Regions from separate parts of the Homo sapiens genome. Here region 1 is linked to region 2. The links are contacts of gene promoters, found by promoter capture Hi-C in blood cells and fetal thymus (Javierre and others, 2016). All regions are on one chromosome and are shown on one strand. The core of a region is centred on a gene start or on the middle of the fragment in contact, and the rest is flanking DNA. Distances in the headings are between cores, read along the strand shown. Region 1 holds the start of LOC102723576 (a long non-coding RNA gene). Region 2 holds the start of METAP1 (methionyl aminopeptidase 1).

Region 1 (4,935 bases), core at 2,388-4,887, 410 kb after region 2:
GCCACTGCAACAACCCAGCCATGGAGATAAGCACAAGACCCAACTCTGTTCAATCACAGCATCACATTGTTCCATTCAAAGATATTGGCTCTGGGATGAACACATGGCCCCAGCCATGCTTGTTTGAGCTCTTCTTTGGGATTTTTAAGAAAAGATTCTAGGAGAGGGAAGTTTTCTTTCTTCTGGATCTGCTATACTGGGATGACCTGAGTCTTGAGCCATCTGTATTCTATTTGTCCACTGCACAAGGAAAGCAGATTGCAGTAGGAGGGGATGGCAACCACACAGGGAGAGCTGCTCAACAAAGCTTGAGGGTGAATTTCTCTCATCTGCAATTGGGCAGACCTCACCATCTCCATAGTTTATCATGGAAATGCTAGAAGATATTTACTATTATATTTTATACAGGCAAAAACTGAAGCTGAGTGATTTGAAGTAACTGTTCCAAAGGTTAAACAGTTAGTAGAATAACAGAAACTTAAACTCCTCATGACTTCTCTGCAGACTCTTAGGAAAAATATTGCTTGCCTCTAACCTTAAGGGTTCAGACAGTGTAAGAATCCACTGATGCCACTGAGGACCTGATTATCCTTCCTGATTCACCTGCTTTGCACTATTACTCCAGCAAGGGGATGGGGCAGGGGATTTTACCCATTTTATAAATAGGAAATTGAGCATTGCCTATAAGGAAGAAGATGACTCTGACCTTTCCTCTTTCCTTCTTGGTACATCCAAACATGTCCATTGCCCTGCCCTACCCATCTACCCACTCCATGTGCATGGAAGCATCAGAGTTTCTCATAATGGAAACTCTACTCTGAGCTGGTGAGACTTCAGGCAGAGACTATCCTCTGGGCCATCACCGATGAAAGGATTTTAGGAGGATCAGGGAGGTGTTGAAAGCTCTTACTGGAAGGTGAAATGGGAATTGCATTGAGCTGCAGTGGCAGCCTTCAACTCTAGTTTTTCTAGGCCTTTGACAGGGAACCTCCAAGATCTCAAGTGAGGGGGCTCTGGGCACTAGGTTACCTCATGGGCCTGACAGCCAACAAAAGGGTGTTATATGGTCTCCTAGTATAAATTTCTGTGCTTCAGGTAATTCTGAACCCCCTCACTCCATGACTTTAGGGAGAAGAGGGTAATGGGGGTAATAGGAGATGCCCTGAAACACCTAAAAGCTTTTTCCTCTCAGCATGTATTCTCTAGGACTTGTAGTCTAAGATGTGAGATGGGACTAGGAATACTACCTCAGTCCATTTGGGCTGCTGTAACAAAATACCATAGACTGGGTGGCTTACAAATCACAGGAATTTATTTCTCACAGCCCTGGAGGCTGGGAAGTCCAAGATCAAGGTGCTGGCAGTTTGGGTGTCTAGTGAGGACCCTCTTCCTGGTTTGAAGGCAGGTACCTTCCTACTCACTGCAGCCTTGACTTCTTGGGCTCATGTGATCCTCCCACTTCAGCCTCCTGAGTAGCTAGGATTACAGGCACACACCACTATGTTGGGCTAATTTTAAAATTATTTGTAGAGACAGGGTCTCACTATGTTGCCCAGGCTGGTCTTGAACTCCTGGGCTCAAGCGATCCTAGCTTTCAGCCTGTGAAAGTGCTGGGATTACAGGCATGAGCCTTCATACCTGGCCTCTGGCCTCTTTTATAAGAGCACTAACCCCATTCATAAGGCCTTTTCCCCCATGACCTAATTACCTTCCAAAGGCTCTGCCTCCAAATACTATCAAGGGGATTGGGGGTTTTAGAATTTTAACATATGAGTGCTGGGGTTACATAAACTTTCAGACCGTAGCAAACACCTCACAGGTAGAACTAGCATAAGGACTCTGGGATGTTTATTCATCCAAAAGGGTTTCTTTAGGGCCTGAGTACTCCACGGGCTACACCCAACATATAACTAAACAAGACAGTCATGTGACATTTAGAACTTGATCCACCATTCCACCTGTGCAGCATCTGAAAATCTGGTGAGTGGAGGTTTAAGGAAATAAGTTGGAGCAGCCCATGTATTGCAGCAGTTCCCAAGCACTGAAAGTAGTAAGACTCTTACTTTAGTTCACTGGAGACTGAGGGCATCAGATTCTCCCACCTTCGGCATTAGCTCCCAAGGCTGTTCTCACTTCCGTTCATGGGATGCAGAAAATACTGACCCCAGCAGGAGGCAGTCTCCTTCTATGTCTCCAATGCTACAGAGAAGCACCAAAATCATAAGGATCCAAATGCTGAAAGGCTAATAGAAAGAATCCTTCAACCTGATGGAGAGTTGCGGGCATATCTCCTTTATGTCCCTATTTTTTCAGAAGAGCATTGCATGCCCTGCTCCCAACCTCCCCAACCCCATTTCTCCTGCCTTAGCCAAACCCATGTCTGAGCTAGGAGAAGAAGGTGAGCTCTTTTGACTATATATAAAGCCATAATAATAATATTAAAAAGTTCACTTTGGATTTCTATCACCATTCCTTTTCACCATGTGGTAAGCAGCTAAAGCCCAAAAGGACCTGGGGCACTCATAACCACATGCTTCACATGCATCACTCTTCTGCTGGAACCAAGGCAAAGGAGCTCCACTGGCACCCCAAAACCTCAGTTGAGACCACTTCTTAAACACTCCTTTCACTACCCCTGTGCTTTAACATGACTTATTTTCTATAAAGTTGTAAGAAAGTGGTAAGATTTTCTTAATCAACTACCCCTGTTGGGGGGGCCCAGCCCATAAGGAAGCCCCTTCTTTTAAAAGATCTGTTACTGTAGGCTTTGATCATCACTTTGGGAATACTTGTGAAAACTGTTAGAAGTTTGTCCTGGTGATTTTTACCATATTTCTGAATTCTGATTCTGAAAGCTGAGCTAATCATACACGGGATTAACGGTGCTTTAAAAGTTAATGGTTAATGATTAAAACACTTATGTTCTTGACTCTCCCTAAACTGAATTGTGGATGCAAAGTTCAAGAGAGAGAAACCAGTCAATACTGGAGCTGAAACAGACTGAAAACAAAATATGTTACCTAATGCTGAGCCTGTAACAGCAATGCAACTCTGAAACTAGATATGGCCTCATAGCTTCCTGGAATCTGAAAATAGTTACCTCAAAACTCATACTCAAAATAATGCCATAAAAAATACACAAAGTTCCAACTTTGTTTCTCAAAGAGCAAGATTTTTCATTCTCATTTTTAGGGAAAGAAACCATGTGTTAAATGAGAAAACAGAATCCAGCTACTCAACAAAGAGTGGGTGTGATCAGAAGGTGTGGTGCCGAATATCCTGCTTCAAGTCCCCAGCGTGTTTCATAAATTAGTAGCTTACCTTGGCAGAGAAAACAGATTCATTTTTCCCAGTAATTTGCCTTTTCGAGATGGAAATCTCCTTTTGAGCAGCACATTTTTCTATAGCCCTGAAAAGACCAATTTATATTTAAATGCATAATACACTCAGAATTTAAAAGGGGAAGGTAGTCATCACAAAAGTCAACTGCAAATTTCACATTGGCTTTAATTTCCCTATAGAACACCAGTTTATCAAATCTGAAGACTTACTTCATCAGTTCTTGATCTTAGAGGGTCTTTCAGCTTTGAGGAGTATCAGGGGCAAAGTGCTAATTTAGACAATAAACAAGCGCATTGTCTTTCTCTTGCTAAGACTGCAAAGGGTAACAGTATGTCAAATTGCTTTTCTTCTGACTGGGCTGAAAAACTCAGTCTGGTATCCCTAGTTATTTTTTACTTAACAGAAGCTCGGCATTAATGTGTGGCTTGGTTAATAGCAATGAGAAAAATAGTTACTACTTTAAAATGTTGTCTAGTAGAAGAGTTACCTCAAAACCTGAATCCTAAGAGGGGGCTATCAAAATGAAAGAGAAATTGATGATGACTCATTAATGAAACATAAGTCATTGAAATGTGGTCTATGATGGTCAGCCTCTTCCTGTGGTTGGTGAATCATTTCACCAGCAATTCTCAATCACATTTGGCCACTGCTCCTCTCAGGCAGCCCCTTGGCTATAGCTCCACTCCATCACTTGCCAGATTCTAGTAACTTCCTTGTCATCGACCTTCAGGCCTAGGGGCAATAATAGCTTCCCACTGTAGCGAAACCCTGGATACTTCAACATCCCTTATTGGAGTGATTAACCCTGCCTGTACCTCTGGAAAGAAAATTATCTCCCATTAAGCCCTAACTTGATTAAACAGGGGTTCCCTGCTAAGACCCTGACTGATACAGGTCCTACCTTCAGGTTTTCCACCAGACAAATCAATAAGCAGTGACTACTCAGCATGAGTACTACTGTGATGGAAATTCTAGTTCTCAGCCTAATCAGTAAGACGTTAACCAACATAAGGAACTGAGAAAATGTAACATGAAGAATGTAGCAACCACTGAATGCTTAGGGTTGAATGAACAAAACCATTCTTTCAACCTACAATTATAAATTTAGAACCTATAGGTAGAGGAATTGTGTGCGGGAATTAGAACACTTAAAATAGGAGAATGGGATCATTCTGTGGGATTAAACACTAATAAATGCAAATAAAGTATAAAAAGATAGACTTGAAGTCACATTGAAGATATAAGCAATCTCCCCCAATAATTCCCTTAGTATATGAAACTGTAAGCAAGATAATAATTTACATACTGATCAGATCATTTTATGTCCATTTTTCTCATTCCTAAAGCAGTTCCCAGGGCCTGCATGACAAAAGTGGGAGGATGAGCTTTACTCAAGTTGCTCAGCCAGTCCAGCATTTCTGGGTTTGATGTCTCCATCAAGCACAAAATTCTCAACTGTGGCCTTATTTTCTCAGTTCTGCTGGAAAAGAGAAGCAATCAAGGCAGTTGGAAAAATGTCCCAAGATAGGAGTGGTTATTTCTGTTTCTCTTCCTAGCGTCAGCATGAACTCACTGATAGCTAAATGCTGCCAC
Region 2 (4,656 bases), core at 145-2,644:
TTGCAAAACTAAGTTTTTTTTTTTTTGAGACATGGTCTTGCTCTGCCGTTTGGGCTGGAGTGCAGTGGCAGGATCATAGCTTACCATATCCTTGACTTCTCAGGTTCAACAGATCCTCCCAGCTCAGCCTCCTCAGTAGCTGGGACTACAGGCGCCTGCCACCATGCCCGGCTAATTTTTTAGTTTTTAGTTTTAGTTTTTGTAGAGACGGGGTTTTGCCATATTTCCACCCTGGTCTCGAACTCCTGGCCTCAAAGAATCCGCTGGCCTTGGTGCCCTGGATGCCCTGGCCTCTCAAAGTGCTGGGATTGATTACAGGCGTCAGCCACCGCTCCTAGCCAAAACAAAGTTCTTAAAAATAAAAGTAGTATGAGCTTTTCTGGTGTATTAAGTACGGAGAAGTTAAAAAAATACAATAACAAAGTTCACAGCCTTTTGTGATCAGTAAATGTTAGTTTTTCGCTCTTCCCTAGTGACAAGGAGGCACTCAAGCATGAGTTACAACACAACCGACCTGGAATACAGCTGAAAAGATTGAAGCAACAGGTTCGCAGGGGAAGGCCTTTACAGCTTCTTTCGACTCTGACATTTCAGGATCAGCACAATTCTCCCCTATTTACTGCTGAAGCAATCAACTGGGATTATACAAAAAAATTATTTGTATTGAATACCTGACAGTTGTGTTACTATTACTAGCACTATCGGTTTTGAAGGGGAGGTGGTGGTGTGTGGAAAAAAAAAGTCTGGCAGGAGGGAGGGCAGATGTGAATCCCAGCCCACCGTCCCGTTGACAGCTCTATGGCTCTCCTTTCTGTGAATGAGCGGTGGTCCTTAGGCCTCAGACCCGACAATGTCAGTGAGAAACAGAACTTAACCCAAGGGACTGTTCTCCAAGGAGCGGCGGGGGAATCCAACGCAGAGGAGCGCAGCGCCCTCTCTAGCCTCCTGCGGGTGTCGGGGATGATCAGGGCTCCTGGGTGTTCGTCAGTGAAGACGACTGTCTTATCTGACTGTAGGCACAGAGAGTGCGCCGCGAGAGGGCGGCTCCTCACCGTCAGGCGCCGGCAGGTCGCGTTCTCTGCTGGCCGACGCCCGAAGGCGCCGAATGGGGGGGCCCTGCCGAGCTCCCTTACAGCCCCAATGTGCGCGCCGCCGGGAGGCTTGGGCACGCAGGCACCGCCGGCGGGGGGCGGGGCGAAGCCGGCGGGGCGGGGCACCAGCTGCGCGCGCGGGGCGGGGGCGGGGCCGGGGCGGGGCGCGCTGCGTGGTCCCGGCCGGCCCTGGCTCCTCCCCCTCCCGCGCCCAGGCCAGCGGCGGGCCCAGCTCCTCCCCCGACTCGGTCTCTCTCCCCTCCCCTCCGCCCGGCAGTTCCTCCCTCCCGCCGCCGCCTCTTCCTCGGTGAGGCGCTCTTCCAGCGGGCAGGCAGCATGGCGGCCGTGGAGACGCGGGTGTGCGAGACAGACGGCTGCAGCAGTGAGGCCAAGCTCCAGTGTCCCACTTGCATCAAGCTGGGCATCCAGGGCTCGTACTTCTGCTCGCAGGTAGGCGCCCGCTGCCCCGCGGATATGCCGCCGCTGCGGGACCCCTCCTCGCTTCTCCCCTGCTGGCTCCTCCCGCCCTTGCGGCGAGTCGGGACGCGCTCCTCCTCTTCCCCCCGGCCGCGTTTCCTCCTCCCCCCACCCGCGTCGCCACCGCCCCCTCCTGCCTCCTGGGGTCCCTGGGTCCTCGGGAACCGCGCTGGGCTCACGCGGGGGCGGGGGCGCCACCCGCCGCGGCCATGTGGGCTGGGGCGGAAGCGGGCTGTGCGGGGTCGCGTGGCCGCGCTAGACCTCCGCGTTCTGGGGCCGGTTCCCCGCGCTGGGGCGGGGGCCGCCAGGTGTGCGGGCTGCCGGAGGCAGGTAGCGGCGCCGGGAAGGAGGGCAGCCCGAGCGTCGCGAGCCTCCACATCCGCAGCACCGGCGGGGCTCGGGTCTGGGCGCTGGAGGCGCCGGGCCGTCCGTCGGGTCCCTGCGGGGTGGGGGGCTGAAGCTACCTGCCGGGCTCTGAGAGATGGGTGGCCCGAGGACCGTCGGAGTCGCAGAGAGGAGGAACGCTAGCTAGCTCCAGCCCCACTTCTTTGTGCTTTACTACCGTGCTTTGACACTTAAGCAACTTTGGGGGTGGGGAAGGGAGAGGTCTGTGTAATTCATTCTTTTCTTTCGGTATATAAAATTATTAATTTACAAAACTGTAAGCTAACGGGATGAGTCACCTGTGACTGAATTTCCCAGAGTGAAAAGGACAGTTCCATTGAGGGTTAGGCGTGAATGCTGTAGTGTATTTTAAGTTTTGTGCAGTAGAGCAAACCCAGCGTTGAATGGGGTCCAGACTGAAGCGTGTGCTCGTGTTTCTGTTTACTGAAGAGTACTAGTGTTGCTGCTGCATTTCGAGACCCAGGATGAGGGCTGGGCGGCAATAGTATGGCTCTTAGTTACAGTCCAGGTTTAGTGAAGAGAGGCACATGAATATTCAAATATTAAATTGGTAGCGTCCTGTGGGGAGGAGAGCCGGAATAAAGAGAAGGCCTGATTGGGGCCCTGCCCTTGCCAGTTATTGTGCGATCTTGAATTAGTAAAGTTACTTAATCTTTCTGAGTTCCAGTGTTACACTGTACAGAGGGGATGATTATAGCTTTCTTTGTAAGTTTCACAAGCTTCTTCTGAGACCCAGATTATCCAAGGAACGTGAAATGCTGTTATAATGTAAAGTCCTTTATTTTTTAAAGGATTCTAGTACGATTTAACTCTGCCATAAATAAAAATATGAATAAGAATGAAGGCAGATATATGAACACAATACAAATAATAAAAGTGTTTTCCAACATAAAACATAAAAACGTAAAGATATAAATAAATACAATCTTTACGTCACAATATTTGTAGATAAGCGATTGCAAAAGGTCTTAGCTGTGTTATACAGTCTTGTTTTTAGATAGGATATGATCCTTGACCTTGTTAGTATAATTTGGAAAAACTTGCACGTGGAGGAGTGTTGCTTGATCTAAAAATAGCATTACCGAACAATCTAAAGGACCTGTACTAGGTTTAACATGTTGAGCATTACTCATGTTAGACCTAGTACACGTCCTTTAGATTCTTTAAAATTCCCAAATTCTATCTTGTTGTGGCCTGTGTGGGACCTGAAATTAAGAAACAGTGTTTGCTTTTGACAGTTGTACCATCTGAGTAGAATAACTTTAAAAGTAGGTGGCATTTTGAATTAATATGTATTACAATCTTCTGTTAAGATTTTAAAAAGGTAGTGTGAAACCACATTCATGAAACAGGTAGAAAGAAGGTGAATCACTGGGGTTTGTGGAAAAATGCTAGACAAATTTGTGAAAACAAAACATCTAGGGTTTATTCCGTGTGTTAGGATTGGAGGTATTTACATGTTGGATTCTGCAGGTATATTTCTGGTATCACTGTTAGACATGCACTCAAATATTCCCAGAGTGGCTGTCCCAACTGTCTCTTTTTCTTCATTTCTGTTACCACCTCCTATGGTCAGCTTTTAAAATTTCCCACCAAATCAGTTGTCATACTCTCTTAATTTATTTCTCTACTGTAATTCCTCCCCTTGCAAACAAACGCCCACAAAAAACCCTATCAAACAAAACCTTTTGTACAGAAGTTATTTTTCCCGCAGTCTGATTATGCGTATCCCTCATTGCTTTCAGGATTCCAGCCCCACATTCAGGGCCCCTCTTCTGAGCCTCTTGCTCTAGCCAAAGGCTATGTTTACATTCTTTCCTTTCCGAAGTGTCACCTGTCTTCTGAAATCACAGCTGTTCCCCCAATCCCAGCTTGAGACCTTGATCAAGTCACTGTAACTTATTCTAAGCGCTTTATACATCTGTGATGAAATATGGGCTTGGCTGGGCATGGTGGCTCACACCTGTAATCTCAGCACTTTGGGAGGCCTAGGCGGGTGGATCACCTGAGGTCAGGAGTTTGAGACCAGACTGGGCAACATGTCAAAACCCTGTCTCTACTAAAAATACAAAAATTAGCTGGGCGTGGTGGCACACGCCTGTAGTCCCAGCTACTCAGGAGGCTGAGACACAAGAATCACTTGAACCTGGGTGGTGGAGGTTGCAGTGAGCCGAGGTTGCACCACTGCACTCTATCCTGGGCAACAGAGCAAGACTCCGTCTCAAGAAAAAAACAAAAACAAAACAAAACAAAAAACCAAAAAGAAGAAATTAGGGATTTTCCTTAACACTTCTGTGATCACTAGGAGGTCTTTCTTTCTACTGCTCTGGTCCCTGGCCTGGCTGTCTGGCCAGCTTGTCTTTGGGAACAAACAGAACAAAACTGCAAGAGGCCTTTCTATCACACCATTAACAGAAGTAAGGCATTCCCAGTTACTCTGTCACACCACCTTGTTTATTCCTTTATGACCTTTTGTGCAATCTATGATTACCTCACCTGTTAGAAAAATGAGGATTTTTTTTTTTTTTGAGACGGAGTTTCGCTTTTGTTGCCCAGGCTGGAGTGCAATGGTGCGATCTCGACTCACCGCAACCTCCGCCTCCCAGGTTCAAGCAGTTCTCCTGCCTCAGCCTCGCAAGTAGATGGAATTACAGGCATGCACCACCACGCTCAGCTAATTTTG

The links. The method cuts DNA at HindIII sites, captures the fragments that hold promoters and counts their contacts. A CHiCAGO score of 5 or more calls a contact.
Region 1: a fragment that was not itself captured here is called in contact with the fragment with the promoter of METAP1 in region 2 in 2 of 17 cell types (fetal thymus and total CD4 T cells); the score reaches 7.0 in fetal thymus.

Annotation. Positions count from the first base shown.
Region 1 is chr4:99,400,770-99,405,704 of GRCh38, forward strand. It overlaps LOC102723576 (a long non-coding RNA gene), which reads right to left and starts at 4,611. Exons shown (of 5, transcript XR_939020.3): 1 at 3,552-4,611; 2 at 3,322-3,409; 3 at 2,064-2,199. RefSeq lists enhancers at 2,225-4,935, 2,842-3,116, 2,884-3,028, 4,002-4,191, cis regulatory regions at 2,894-2,905, 2,950-2,963 and a silencer at 4,743-4,935. The HindIII fragment of the contact is 4,923 bases long and covers 1,177-4,935 here.
Region 2 is chr4:98,994,327-98,998,982 of GRCh38, forward strand. It overlaps METAP1 (methionyl aminopeptidase 1), which reads left to right and starts at 1,395. Exons shown (of 11, transcript NM_015143.3): 1 at 1,395-1,541. The coding sequence starts at 1,428. MIR3684 (microRNA 3684) reads left to right here and starts at 3,061; the gene lies at 3,061-3,134. RefSeq lists enhancers at 837-886, 1,808-2,590 and silencers at 1,127-1,446, 1,607-2,066. The HindIII fragment of the contact is 4,143 bases long and covers 1-2,690 here.